Linked DNA regions of Homo sapiens: all the other regions are linked to region 3. The links are contacts of gene promoters, found by promoter capture Hi-C in blood cells and fetal thymus (Javierre and others, 2016). All regions are on one chromosome and are shown on one strand. The core of a region is centred on a gene start or on the middle of the fragment in contact, and the rest is flanking DNA. Distances in the headings are between cores, read along the strand shown. Region 1 overlaps SLC28A3 (solute carrier family 28 member 3). Region 2 overlaps SLC28A3 (solute carrier family 28 member 3). Region 3 holds the start of UBQLN1 (ubiquilin 1). Region 4 overlaps SLC28A3 (solute carrier family 28 member 3). Region 5 has its middle 11 kb from the start of SLC28A3-AS1.

Region 1 (2,700 bases), core at 137-2,636, 620 kb after region 3:
TTCAGTAATGACTAGAACTAGAGAGATGGTCAGTAAGAAAATACAAGAATTGAACAGTGGTATATAAACCAACTAGACCTTATAGACATATACAGAACACTCCACCAACAAAAGTAGAATACACATTCTTCTCAAGTGCATGTAGAACATTCTCCAGGCTAGATCACATGTTAGGCCCAAACAAATCTCAATAAATTTAAAAATATTGAAAGATAATGTGTCTTCCCCAACCACAATTTGGGGAAAACTTATAAATTATGAGGAAATTAAGCACACTCCTAAATAACCAATGGATTAAAGAAGAAATCATTAGGGAAGTTAGAAAATAGTTTGATAATAATTAAAATGCAGCCTGGGTGACAGAGTGAGACTCTGTCTTATAAAAAAAAGAGAATTAATAAAAATAAAGCTTAGAGTGAGACTCTGTCTCATGAAAAAAAGAAGAAGAAAGAAAAATAAAGCTGAGCACAGTGATGCATGCCTGTAGTCCCAGCTACTTGGAAGGCTGGGGTGGGTGGATTGCTTGTACCCAGGAGTTTGAGGCCAGCCTAGGCAACATAGCATGGCCCTCATCACAAATAAATAAATAAATAACAAAAATGAAAATATACGAAAATTTATGAATATCGCTAAAGCAGTGCTTACAGGGAATTTTATAATTGTAATTGCTTATATTATCAAGAAGTAAGATCTCAAATCAATAATCCAATCTTCTACTGTAATGAACTAGAAAAAGAACAACAAACTAAATCCAAAGTTAGCAGAAAGAAAGAAATAATGAAGATTATCGTGGAGACAAATGAAATATAGACTAGAAAAACAAAAGAGAGAATCAATGAAACCAAAAGTTGGTTCTTAACTTACTTAAGGGAAAAAAAAAGCTCAAAAAAACTAATAGCAAGTGAAGAGATTGAATTGCTAACCATAAACCTCCCAACAAGGAAATGTCAAGGAAAAAAGAAACCAAGGAAAAAAAAGAGAGAAGACAAATAACTAAATTCATGAATGAAAGAGGAGATATTACTACTGATATTACAGAAATAAATGTAAAGTTGTTACTTTAATTTTTTGGCATAAATCTGGTGGTCAGGTCCTTAAAGAGGAAGGATAACCAGATCTGTGTGTGTGTATGAACTCTAAAACCAAAAACACATGCTTACGTGGGTGATCCAATAGAATAACCATCAGTGGCAAGTGGTTACTGAGTGCTTGAAATGTGACTAATATGACTAAGGACCTGAATTTAATTTTAACTAATTTAAATTTAAATTAAAAACTGAACATTAGATCCATGTATTGAAAAACAGGCATGTTTAGAACAACTTGATTATGAATCTACTTTTTACAAATATACATTTTATGAAATCTAAAAACAGATCAAGTATTTCTGATAAAAATGTAGCATTAGAGTTGACATGTACTATATGTTTAAAATATGCACTGGATGTTCAAAGACTTGGTATGAAACAAATATAAATTATTTCATTAATTTCAATATATGAGGTTCCATAAAATATAGTTAAAATAAGGTGAAGAGTTATACCTACTTTATTTTGCATTTTTAATGGGCTTGCAGAAAAGTTTTAAATTACATATCTGGCTAGTGTTACATATTAGAAAGTTCTGCTTTAGCCCTCAGCAAAAATGTATCTTTATCTACATTATTAATTATTTTCTATTTTCTTTCCAGTGCCTCAACACTGATGAGTAAGTGGCTCCTCAATTTCAAGGGGAATCACTTCAGGAGTGTTTGAATGAGGAAAAACTAAATCCTTATACCCTCTCTCTCTGAGATGCCATGGAAGTGACTTGGTTTACAATCCCCTACACTGTTTTCCCCTAAAAATAAGTCTAGGTGTGATCATGCAAACTTGAGGAAAGAGTAGAGAATATACTTTTCTTTTTTAACCTCCTTCCCAAAAGCGAATTATTGTCATGTGTTTTTGTGTGTGTGTGTTTTAATTGAATATAGGAAGCTCCAGCCGAGCGCCTCTTGAGCAATGTGAAAGAGTACTCAATGTGATTCATATTGACTTCCCAGGCTAGTGGGTTAAGGAGAAACAATATTCTTCTTCCCTACATAACATAGTTACTTCCTACCTTAGAACTTTTGTATTCAAAGTACGTGCTTGACAAGAAGTCTACACCTGTACTCCAGCAGGTTTGGATCCCTGATGGACTTACACTTACATGATCTCCCAAATTGTAAACTCCATTTAACAAACTCTCCAAACCTGCTTGACTGGCTTACTCATGGAGTAACTCAGCCTTTCCTGTGTGTTTGTGCAGAGTGAGGCCCATTTCCCCAGCCTAGTCCTCTCCCAAGACTTTCGTAAGTGAGTTCCACCCAACTAACTTCAGAGCAAGCTTGGGTTCTGTGCCTCTGAGAGCAGCTGTGGTAAGATTGATTGCTTATTCACAGGGAGGAGGAAACTTGAGTTGGGATTCCAAGAGATGCCTTTTAATAAATGTGTTAAAAAACATTCCTGCATTTTCCTCTTAGAAATTCTGAACTGTTTTGACCTCTGTTGCTGTTAACTTCCATCTCTTTGGATTCTTCCCCATCTCCTCTGAGTTTGGAAAAATCTTTCAGTTGCCCTGTTCCAAAAAGCCTCTCCCAAATATGGACACGTGGCAAAATATCTGTGGAGTGGGGAAAAGGTTCTTTTTTAAAGCAATGTTGATGATCACTGAGTGGTG
Region 2 (2,700 bases), core at 13-2,512, 600 kb after region 3:
TTGGGGATGCATTAGCGGGTTATGAAGCCCACATAGTAACCACTATTAAAATAGAAGGAGGCCAGGTGTGGTGGCTCATGCCTGTAATCCTAGCACTTTGAGAGGCCAAAGTAGAAGGATTATTTGAGCCCAGGAGTTTCAGACCAGCCTGGGAAACACAGTGAGACCTTGTCTCTACAAAAAAAAAAAAAAAAAAAAAAAAAAGCTTCGTGTGATGGCACAAACCTGTGGTCCCAGCTGCATGGGAAAATCACTTGAGCCCGAGCGGTCAAGGCTGCAGTGAGCTGTAATTGTGTCACTGCACCCCGTCTCAACCAAAAAAAAAAAAAAAAGGCCAGGCGCGGTGGCTCAAGCCTGTAATCTCAGCACTTTGGGAGGCCAAGGCGGGTGGATCAACTGAGGTCAGGAATTTGAGGCCAGCCTGGCCAACATGGTGAAACCCTGTCTCTACTAAAAATACAAAAATTAGCCGGGTGTGGTGGCACAGGCCTGTAATCCCAGCTACTCGGGAGGCTAAGGCAGGAGAATCGCTTGAATCTAGGAGGCGGAGGTTGCAGTGAGCCAAAATTGCGCCATTGGATTCCAGCCTGGGAGACAGAGCGAGACTCCATCTCAAAAAAAAAAAAAAACAAAAACAAAAACAAAAAGAAAGAATAAAAATATCAAAAGTATCATAGTGTATCATTCATACATAAGAACAATAGGTATCACTTCATGAAATGTTCATCATTATGTATGTGTGTGAATATGTATACTGAGAGTTAGAAACAGTGCTCTCTAGAAAATATTGGGTGAATAAAAGTGTAGTGAAGACATTTTTTCACGGTCTGATTTAGGAAAGGCTAATGATGTATTATTCTCAGTTGAAGATATATTAAGAAGCAGCAGCAGCAGAGGGTGACATTTAATAGGGTACATTCACATACTGTAGGTTGACTCTATCAGGTTCTTTAATTGCAGGGAATGTGTGTAGTCCATTGTGGCAATCTGACTTCTGCATAAAGCAGAGTAGCTGAAAGTAGACACTTTGGTCATTTGGTTATCTAGGCTGAATAATTCCCAACCTCCTGATGGCTGTTTCAGTCTCATTAACATTAGTGAAACCTGAGTACCTCTGACCACCCAAGAGAATTTCTCAGTACCTCCGGGTCAGAGACTCATAAAGTAAAATGAAGGATAAAACTTTGCTATGTTTCTGATATGGTAAATATTTGGGATGATGTATATGTGACAAGAGCTGCCAACCCTAATTCTGGCCAACTCCAGAGATATCTTCTGATACATATAACAAAGTTCCTCCTGTAGTCCCAGCTACTTGCGAGGCTGAGGTGGGAGGATCACCTGAGCCCAGGAGGTCGAGGCTGCAGTGAGCTTGACAGATCTCATGACAGGGCCTTGCTCTGTTGCCCAGGCTGGACAGAATAGATTTAAATTAAAATATATTTCTGGCCGGGCGTGGTGGCTCACACCTGTAATCCTGGCACTTTGGGAGGCTGAGGCAAGCAGACCACCTGAGGTCAGGAGTTCAAGACCAGCCTGGCCAACATGGTGAAACCCTGTCTCTACTAAAAATGCAAAAATTAGCCGGGCACGATGGTGCATGCCTGTAATCCCAGCTACTCGGGAGGCTGAGGCAGGATAATTGCTTGAACCCGGGAGATGGAGGTTTCAGTGAGCTGAGATTGTGCCACTGCACTCCAGCCTGGGCAACAGAGCAAGACTCCATCTCAAAAAAAAAATTTAAAATCTATTTCTAGATTTAAAATTAGCACCACTGAACTCCAGCCTATGCAACAGAGTAAGCCCCTGCCTCTAAAAAAGAAAAAAGAAAAATTTCCTCAGAGACATAGGAATGCAAATCAAATTTAAGTAGGAATATAGAAGATGGACAAATACTGTAGTGTTATGATAGGTGGCAGACAATCCTGGACTAGGAATCAGAAGCTGAAATTGTGACCTAATTCTCTTCCTCTCCTAGTTGACTTGGGGAAGTCACTTCTCTGAGGTTCATTTTTCTGGTCCAAAAAATAAAGATACTAATCTTGCGTCTCCTACCTTACGGAGTTGTAAGAACTTGGAATACTTTGAGGCTATTACAAGGTAAGAGAAACCGTTTGTTGGGATTTAAAGTGGATTGGGTTTTGAGCGATCAATTGCTATTGATTGACATTGAGAAGATGAATTAACTGCATTCGTATGGACTGGAGCAATTATTTGGTAATTTACACTTTTAATTAGAAGACTGTCCTGGGTGAATTTAAATCTGCATATTGGGTTCCCAGAACATCAGCAGTTTGAATTGGCCACATTGATCATCTTAAAGCTTCATTAATTTTTCTGGAAGGGGTGTTGGGTAGGGAGGGTAGATGGATGGGTGGTGACAATCTCTAATAAATTATAATAAGTGTTAAAAATCAAATGGGAGGCCTGGTGCCATGGCTCATGCTTGTAATCCCAACACTTTGGGAGGTCGAGGTGGGTGGATCATTTGAGGTCAGGAGTTCGAGACCAGCCTGGCCAACATGGTGAAACCCAGCCTCTACTAAAAATACAAAAATTAGCCAGGCGTGGTGGCATGCGCCTGTAGTCCCAGCTACTCGGGAGGCTCAAATGGGAGAATCGCTTGAACTTGGGAGGCGGAGGTTGCAATGAGCCGAGATCACATCACTGCACTCCAGCCTGGGTGACAAAGTGAGACTC
Region 3 (2,700 bases), core at 39-2,538:
TAATTAACTGCAAGATTTGTATTCCTGAACCAAGTTTAAGTAATATTCTGCATTCACTCCGATTTTCTTTTATTTGATTGCAACCGCTAATATCAACATCGCTATCGCCCCTCTAAAATCAAACAAAAACCTACCCAATGATTGGCATCTAAGAGATGATAAACATACTAAAAGGGAAAGAGCAAGTCATCAGTGAAAGAAAGTCATTCACTTTTCTCCTTAAACCTAGTACTATCACTATTACTTAAGATGGAGCTAAAAACAGTTTCTACGTCATAATTTTTTTTTAAAGGTTGCAAGGTGGGAAAGATTTCAGGAGTTAAAATGCAGAACTAAATATACACATGCACCTCACCCCAAAACCCACCTTAACAAGCAGGCACGTAAAACAACGAGGATCCCACCCACCCCTTTTTAATTCATGAAACAAAACCGCAGCCTGAGCTAAAGCGAACCCTCGCCCCCGCCCAGCCTCCACCCCGCCCGGAGGCTGGCGGTGGGTCCCTTTCCTTTGTGAGGAGTTGGAGGGGAGGCGACGGAGGGCGGGGAACTGGGGGAGGAGGCTGAGGGTCGGCGGATACCAGAGAAGGAAGGCTCCGAGAAAAGCGGCATCAGCCCGTCCCACAAACAGGCCGCGCCGCCACGCCACAAACCATTGCGGTGTCCCAAGGCGCAAACCCACGAACTTGGGTGTGATCTAATTTGGGACGACGCCCGGGAGAATGGCCGAGGACGACCCCTCTCCCAGGCCCTTCCAAAAGGTCTCCTGGGGCGGCGGGCGGAGGTCCTGCCGCCACCCCCATCCCGGCCCGAGCCCCAGGCGGCCTCACCTGCTGGACGGAGCTATTCTCGGGCACGGCGAATTCCTCCTTTTCCTTCGGGGTCTTCACGGTGACTTTCATGATTTTGGGCTCCGCGGAGGCAGCGGCCGCGGGGGCGCCAGCACCTTCGGCTCCGGCGGCGCTATCCTGGGAGCCCGGAGGACCGCCGCTTTCACCACTCTCGGCCATGGCTGTGGCGGCGGCGGCGGCGGTGACTCAGGCAAGCAGGAGGGAGCAGGCGAGCAAGGAGGAGCCAGCAGACACCAGAGCCGGCAGGCCTGGACAGCGAAGAATGCAGAGCACGCCGCCTCAGTAGCAACGGGCGCAGGGCCACCGTAGCGGGTGTGGGGCCCCGGAGCTCGGTGCAGGCTCTGGCGCAGGCCCGGGTCAGGCGCTCGGCAGCCGCCGTGTGTTCAGGCGCCGCTCGCTCACACCGACATCCGCAGCAGCCACCGCTTCCTCCTCCCTGCCCCTTCCCCCACGTCCCTTCGCCGGCGCCGCGCGGAGCACGCCGGGTAACGCGCCTGGCGGCGTCGCCGAGTCATCCCCGGCTGGCGCGACTTTGAGCTCAGCCTGCGTGCCTTTTCCTTTCCCGCTCCATTGCCCAAAGTGCAGGCGAAGCCAGTGTGAAGGACTAAAAGCAAAATGGGGCGGGGTAGGTCAGTTCATGGTTTTTTTCCACTCCTTTCACCAAAAACTAAATCGCAGTTTCCAGTTAAGCGCTGTAACGGCGCACCGAGATGACGTCACGGTTAGCGAAATTACTAGAAAGGGACCAGTGGGCCCTGCGGCCGCGGCTGCGCCTGCGCGCTTGCTGTCCAGGTAGTCTCCCCACCTTACCTCATGCCCAGCTGGGCCGTGTTCACCCCTCCGCGCTGTCACAATCGCCTTGCCCTCCCTTGCCTCTCTGTCTACTCTGCGTTCCCCGCTGGGAGGAGGGTCTGGTGATAAAATAGCGGCGAGGTATTTTGTTATTTTAATATGCTTAGCGTTTGATATTTGGAGGGGTCGTATTGCCCTATGCGGGGGAGTTGGGGTAAGTTAATGGTGGAAAGGCCTCAGCACAACGAACAGAAAATGGAGTGAACGCCCGTGACTGCCCTGCGCAATCCTGCGGAGTCATTGCTTCATGGCCAGAGCTTATTTACCGCCCTCGGGTTAGCCCGGTTTGGTCAGACGATCAGTCAGGCAACCTGTATTGACAGTGGCCTCTGCTGCTACGATGACAGCTGTGCGCGAGCGCCCCCAGATTATCTGTGTGTAGGGCGGAACAGGGTGCCCGAGGAGTGTCCACCCAAATGGGACAATTTAATATAGTTGAGGTGTTCGCCTTATATTCTATCAAATTAAGTTACTGGTCAATTTCAGGCTTTAAGTGGCATTAAGGATAGTTCCAAAATTATTTTCAGTGTAATACAGAGAGAAATTATCTCTGAGAATCCTAATTTGAAATGACGTCATTGGCTTTTAAAGATGACTTGCAAGGAATGTACAAACCAGCCCATTATTAATCAATGTTGCACAATTTAAATCCTGACAGCCCACTATGACCCAAATCCGCAAAGATACATTCTGCCTTTCTGCTCCTAAGCCGTCCAACCCTGTTCTGAGAATAAATACTGTTACATAAACACGACTTTTTAGCAGAGCTCTATGGAATCTGGGTCTAAGAGAATCCTGAGGGTATCGATTTCAGTATAGACATCATTTGATATCACCTAAATTTCTGGCAGCATGGCTCAATAACAAGGCCTTCTGCTTAATGAAGGATGACTACTTGGTTATGTCCAGGTGTGAGATGATCACTGCTTCTAAAGCTAGAAAGTGCCACAACTGGACAACCAATCATTTGGAATTTCTTCCATATGTCTAAATAAAA
Region 4 (2,700 bases), core at 169-2,668, 580 kb after region 3:
CATCACCTCATTTAAAAATGGAGTGCCACCATCACTTTGAATCCCCCTGTGTACTCTTCTTTGATCTCATCCTCCCCTCTAATCTCAGAGGTATCTGTCTTCCTGAAATTCACTCATCATCCCCTTTCTATACAGTTTTCCTACATGTCTGTATTCCCTAAAAAATACATTGTGTGTCCGGGTGCAGTGGCTCACACCCTATAATCCCAGCACTTTGGGAAGCCGAGGCAGGTAGATTGCTTGAGCCCAGGAGTTTGAGACCAGTCTGGACAACATGGTGAAATACTGTCGCTACAAAAAGTACAAAAATTAGCTGGGTGTGGTGCTGCGTGCCTGTAGTCCTAGCTACTCAAGGGGCTGAGGTGGGAGGATCACTTGAGCTCAGCCTGGGTGACAGAGTGAGACCCTGTCAAAACAAACAAACAAACAAACAAAAAAACAACATTGTGCAAGTCTGCACACTGAGTAACTTTACAAGTGGAATTACGCTGTATTCTTTGGTAACTTGCTTTTTCGCTCATGGTTGACTTTATCTACATACAAGTATGGGTGAATTTCAGACACATGTTGGTTGCTGATGAATTCTGTTATTTAATGAAATACTCTTGAACACCCTAAATCCCTTAGTCTTTTCCACTCTGTTTTTTTTTCTTTTTCACAGAGCAAAAGAAAAGGAACCAGCTTTCTTATAGGAGGAACCTCCAGAAATGGTCATCCTATGGCTTTCTGTCTAAACCAAGGCTCCATAAACACTCTGCTATATTTATAAAGAAATATCTTTACAACAAACAGATATGGAAATGTATTGACATTAGGTATTTAGAGAGGTTTATGTCAAGTATTAAACAAGATTTTGGCCAGGTCCCAGCACTTTGGGAGGCTGAGGCAGGAGGAGCCCTTGAGCCCAGGAGCTGGAGATCAGCCTGGGCAACATAGTGAGACCCTGTTTCTAAAAAAAATTAGCTGAGAGTGGTGGTGCATGCCTGTAGTATCAGCTACTTAAGAGGCTGAGGTGGGAGGATAACTTGAGCCTGGGATGTTGAGGCTGCAGTGAGCTGTGTTCATACCACTGCACTCCAGCTTGAGTGACAGAGCAACTTTAAAAAAGTCTTTTTTGAGCAAGACTCAAAAAAAGGAAATAAAATAAGACTTTTTTCTGTGAAGTCTAAATAGTCTTTGGACTAACTTTAATATTGTAATTCACTGTGCTTTCCGGTTATCAAATTTTTGCTGTACATTGACTCCTGGAGTCCCCCGCCCCGGCTTGGGTAGTCATTAATTAGGTGAATGTGTCACACTTACCCACTTTCCATTTTCATGGCATTCTTGAGGGTTATTTTAGGTTTTTCTGTCTCAGGCCAAAAGAGTTTAGCAGCAGCCAATGACGCAGGTGCTGACATAACTGACGCTGTTAACAAGTGGGAGGATGGAACCTGCAATTTCAGAAGAAAGAAGGCAAACCTGGGATTAGCTTTTTTCTTGTGTTCAGAGGAAGGGTCCAAGAGCTCCGCAAGGGAAGAAACAGGGCAGGGGTTGTTTCTATTCCAGAAGACAATGTTTCTTTGGAGGTCTGGAAGAGCCACTCTAGCTCATTGAGCCAAGTCGCGGGCATCACCTTGAGAGGCTGAGGGATAAGGGAGACATTTGTGCTAATTGACCACATCCCTGGGGAGAAGCATAAAACCAAAATCTGATCGTTTCAGAAAAGAATTAATCCTGTGTTGTGGAAACTTTCAAGGAAGATTCCTCTACCTCTCTGTTGCCCTTTTGAATGTTCAGAGAGCCCCTAAAGCATGTATGTCATTACAACTTTTTTTTTTTTGAGATGGAGTCTTGCTCCGTCACCCAGGAGTGCAGTGGTGCGATCTTGGCTCCCTGCAACCTCCGCCTCCCTGGTCAAGCGATTCTCCTGCTTCAGCTTCTTGAGTAGCTGGGATTACAGGAGCCCACCACCACACCTAGCTAATTTTTGTATCTTTTAGTAGAGATGGGGTTTCAACCATGTTGGCCAGGCTGGTCTTGAACTCCCAACCTCAGGTGATCTGCCTGCCTTGGTCCCTCAAAGTGCTGGGATTACAGGCATGAGCCACCATGCCCAGCCTCATTACATCATTTTAGATAGGGGATGGGGAGGGGATGGGGAGTGGAGAAGGGACTCATGATTCATGTGCAGATGTGTATATTCTCCTCTCTCCATCTTCCTTTTGCTCTCCTGAGGTCCTTGGTGCCTTTACACAATCTTCATTGATCTGGTGGCCCTTTAATCTGTACACGACTTCTGTTTTCTTTATTGCAGGTCCACTCGTTCCCCTTCCTACCTGCCCTCACATGGTTTCTGGATTCTCTTCCACATATTTTCAGAATTCCAGGATCAACACCTCCCTCCCTGTTCCTGTTCCCCCCAGAACATTTTTGAGGCAGCATTTCTACAGTGGGGATGGCATTCCCCAGATGATCCACTCAAGCTGCTCCACAGGTGTCCTTTGCTCCTTTCTTCTTGCCTCTTCCTACTAATTGGCACTCCGAGGCCTGGATGAAGACCTACAATGAAGCCCACTTATTTTGTAAGAAATCCTAGTCTCCTGAGTCACACAGTGACTGGGCTGTGTTACTCAGTTTCAATATTGGGGACTGTGTCTATGTGTGGCTTGTAAGCTCTATGGGTCGGGGTGCACGCACCAGTTATAACATTCTCTAGCC
Region 5 (2,700 bases), core at 160-2,659, 560 kb after region 3:
AGTTTCCAGGCTAGCGACTCTACGTTCACCTGTGTCATAGCAACAGGAGAAAACTGCAGTTGACTTTCGCTTTCCAAATGTCTTGGAAACAGGGCTTTCAATTCTAAACCCCAACTTCCACTCTACGGTTTCCTGGTACGAAGCTGTTTGGACTCTGGGAGTTGGTGGCTTGAGAGAAACAGGAAGGGAGGGGAGATTCTGGGACATTAGTATATTCATGGCAGGTGTGTGTAAATTGGAGCTGTCAGTTTGACCAGCAGGAAATAGAAAGTATGAATCTTAGGGGAAGGGAGTGAATCACATTCACAAAGACAGCTTGAAAAATTGGCCAGGAGGCAAATGACAAGTTCTCCACTCTATATGAAATATCAAGATTAAAGGAAAATCAATTATCCTTTACCTTTGAGCGTTTTTGGGGGTTATGGTGAAATTAGGACTAGAGGGAGTAAGCAATGGTAGCCTTTAATTTTTCCTAATATTTTACTATAACAAATTTCAAACATACGGCAAATTCGAAGGAGTTTTATTGTGTAAATTTAGATTCTATCATTAACATTTTACCTGATTTATCACTTATTGTTTATCGTTGTTGTATATTCCTCTATCCTTCTATCGATACACCTTAGTTTTGGAAGTAGTTTTGATTTTAGTATTCTGATTATTCTTTCTTTCTTTCCTGTTTTAGTGTTTATTACCCTCCTTTTGTCTTCATCCACCCAAAACCATCATCTTTAATGATTACAACAAAGAACATGATAATGATAACAAAAATTTGTTAAAGCTACATTTGCTGAACATATACTATATGACAAGCACAGTACTAGCTACTTTTCTTATATTATTATCTCAATATTTTTCAGAATAGGAGGAGATATAATTATCCCTCTTTTGATAATAAGGAAACAGAATCTCAGAGATAAGTGGCTAAACCAGGATTCAAACCCAGTCTTGTCTGGTAATTTGCTTTGGCAAACAAGTTTCAGGGGATTAATGGCCCTAGGAATTTCATTTCAAAGTAGGTTAGTGAACAACTCACTAAAACCACCTTAAACCTATTATGGAGATCATTGATAAAATCATTATCTGCCTTTAGTTTATGTAAAGGAGCCTTTAGTTCAGAGTGGAATGAAAAAGCTAATCTTTGAACCATGATTATCTGTGAACAATCTGGGTATCTGCATTTCTTTGTATGAGAGTGAAGTAGGCAAAATTTTCCGCAGAAACTTATTGAACTCTTCTATGGGCCAAACATTACACATTCATTTAATTCTTTTTTTCTTTTTTTGAGACGGAGTTTCGCTTTTGTTGCCCAGGCTGGAGTGCAATGGTGCGATCTCAGCTCACCGCAACCTCCGCCTCCTGGGTTTGAGCGATTCTCCTGCCTCAGCCTCCCGAGTAGCTGGGATTACAGGCATGCGCCACCACGGCTGGCTAATTTTTGTATTTTTAGTAGAGACGGGGTTTCTCCATGTTGGTCAGGCTGGTCTCGAACTCCCGACCTCAGGTGATCTGTCCGCCTTGGCCTCCCGAAGTGCTGGGATTACAGGCATGAGCCACCATGCTTGGCCTCATTTAATTCTTAAGGCCAGTTCTCTCAGGTAGATATTATAATCTTCATTTTAAAGATCAAACAGTTAATGTTCACTGGAGCAAACAGACAGACCAATAGAACAGAGCAGAAAGTCCACATAATCCCAATACAGGGGACTTAATGATAAAAGGGATGACAGTCATCCCTTGGTATTCCTGGGGGATTGGTTCCAGGAGTCCCCTCAGATACCAAAACCCCAGGAGGCCATAAAATGGCATAGTATTTGCATATAATGTAGGCACATCCTCCGGTAAATCATCTCTAGATTACTTACAATACCTAATACAATGTAAATGCTATGTAAATAGTTGTTGTACTGTATCATTTAGGGAACAATGACAAGAAAAAAAGTCTCTACATGTTCAGTACAGACATAACCATTGCAGGCCTAGCTACATTTTCTATTCAAGGTTGGATCCAAGGATGCAGAACCTATGGTTACTGAGGCCAGCTGTACCAGTATTCAATAAGTGATATTGGGACAACCATCTAGAAAAAAATGTAAAAAAAAAAAAAAAAAAAATCTGAAGCCATATCTCACACCATTTAGGAGGACAAATCCCAAATGGATCAAAGACAAATATGAAAAGTGAAACCACAAAAGTTCTACTAGAAAGGATGAGAAAATTTCTTTATGACTTTAGAGTGGGGATGGCTTTCCTATGACACAAAATCTAGAAGCCATAATAAAAGAGATTGATATATTTAAGTATGGAAATTTTTTTTGTTTGTTTGAGACAGAGTCTTGCTGTGTCTCTCAGGCTAGAGTGCAGTGGTGGGGTCATGTCTCACTGCAACCTCCACCTCTGGGGCTCAAGCCATCCTCCCACCTTAGCCTCCTGAGTAGCTGGCACTACAGGCGCTTGCCACCAAGCCTGGATTTTTTTTTTTTTTTTTTTTTTTGTGGAGATGGGGTTTCACCATGCTGGTCTCCAACTTCTGGACTCAAGCAATCCTCCTGCCTCTGCCTCCCAAAGTGCTAGGATTATAGGTGTGAGCCACTGCTCCTGGCCTAAACAGATAAATTTACTTTACATGTGGAAACTTCTACATGGCAAAAAAGAACTACAAAAAAATAAAAGTACAGATGGCAATATGGAGGAAATATT

Evidence for each region. The method cuts DNA at HindIII sites, captures the fragments that hold promoters and counts their contacts. A CHiCAGO score of 5 or more calls a contact.
Region 1: a contact is called between a fragment that was not itself captured here and the fragment with the promoter of UBQLN1 in region 3, in 1 of 17 cell types (neutrophils). The highest score is 8.7, in neutrophils.
Region 2: a fragment that was not itself captured here is called in contact with the fragment with the promoter of UBQLN1 in region 3 in 1 of 17 cell types (monocytes); the score reaches 5.3 in monocytes.
Region 4: a contact is called between a fragment that was not itself captured here and the fragment with the promoter of UBQLN1 in region 3, in 2 of 17 cell types (total B cells and neutrophils). The highest score is 6.4, in total B cells.
Region 5: a contact is called between a fragment that was not itself captured here and the fragment with the promoter of UBQLN1 in region 3, in 3 of 17 cell types (total B cells, monocytes and neutrophils). The highest score is 5.9, in total B cells.

Annotation. Positions count from the first base shown.
Region 1 is chr9:84,329,293-84,331,992 of GRCh38, forward strand. All of the region lies in intron 1 of SLC28A3 (solute carrier family 28 member 3), which reads right to left. Among named protein-coding and RNA genes, the nearest start is that of SLC28A3, 10 kb to the right of the region's middle. The HindIII fragment of the contact is 1,958 bases long and covers 408-2,365 here.
Region 2 is chr9:84,306,817-84,309,516 of GRCh38, forward strand. The region is part of intron 3 of SLC28A3 (solute carrier family 28 member 3); the gene reads right to left. Among named protein-coding and RNA genes, the nearest start is that of SLC28A3-AS1, 30 kb to the left of the region's middle. The HindIII fragment of the contact is 2,118 bases long and covers 204-2,321 here.
Region 3 is chr9:83,706,670-83,709,369 of GRCh38, forward strand. It overlaps UBQLN1 (ubiquilin 1), which reads right to left and starts at 1,289. Exons shown (of 11, transcript NM_013438.5): 1 at 831-1,289. The coding sequence starts at 1,010. It overlaps UBQLN1-AS1 (UBQLN1 antisense RNA 1), which reads left to right and starts at 1,166. Exons shown (of 2, transcript NR_135839.1): 1 at 1,166-1,643. RefSeq lists enhancers at 312-1,202, 970-1,039, 1,203-2,091. The HindIII fragment of the contact is 7,028 bases long and covers 1-2,700 here.
Region 4 is chr9:84,286,746-84,289,445 of GRCh38, forward strand. SLC28A3 (solute carrier family 28 member 3) reads right to left here. Exons shown (of 18, transcript NM_001199633.2): 12 at 1,303-1,433. All of the region lies in intron 1 of SLC28A3-AS1 (SLC28A3 regulatory antisense RNA 1), which reads left to right. Among named protein-coding and RNA genes, the nearest start is that of SLC28A3-AS1, 9.9 kb to the left of the region's middle. The HindIII fragment of the contact is 4,681 bases long and covers 1-2,700 here.
Region 5 is chr9:84,266,239-84,268,938 of GRCh38, forward strand. No RefSeq gene overlaps it. Among named protein-coding and RNA genes, the nearest start is that of SLC28A3-AS1, 11 kb to the right of the region's middle. The HindIII fragment of the contact is 6,591 bases long and covers 1-2,700 here.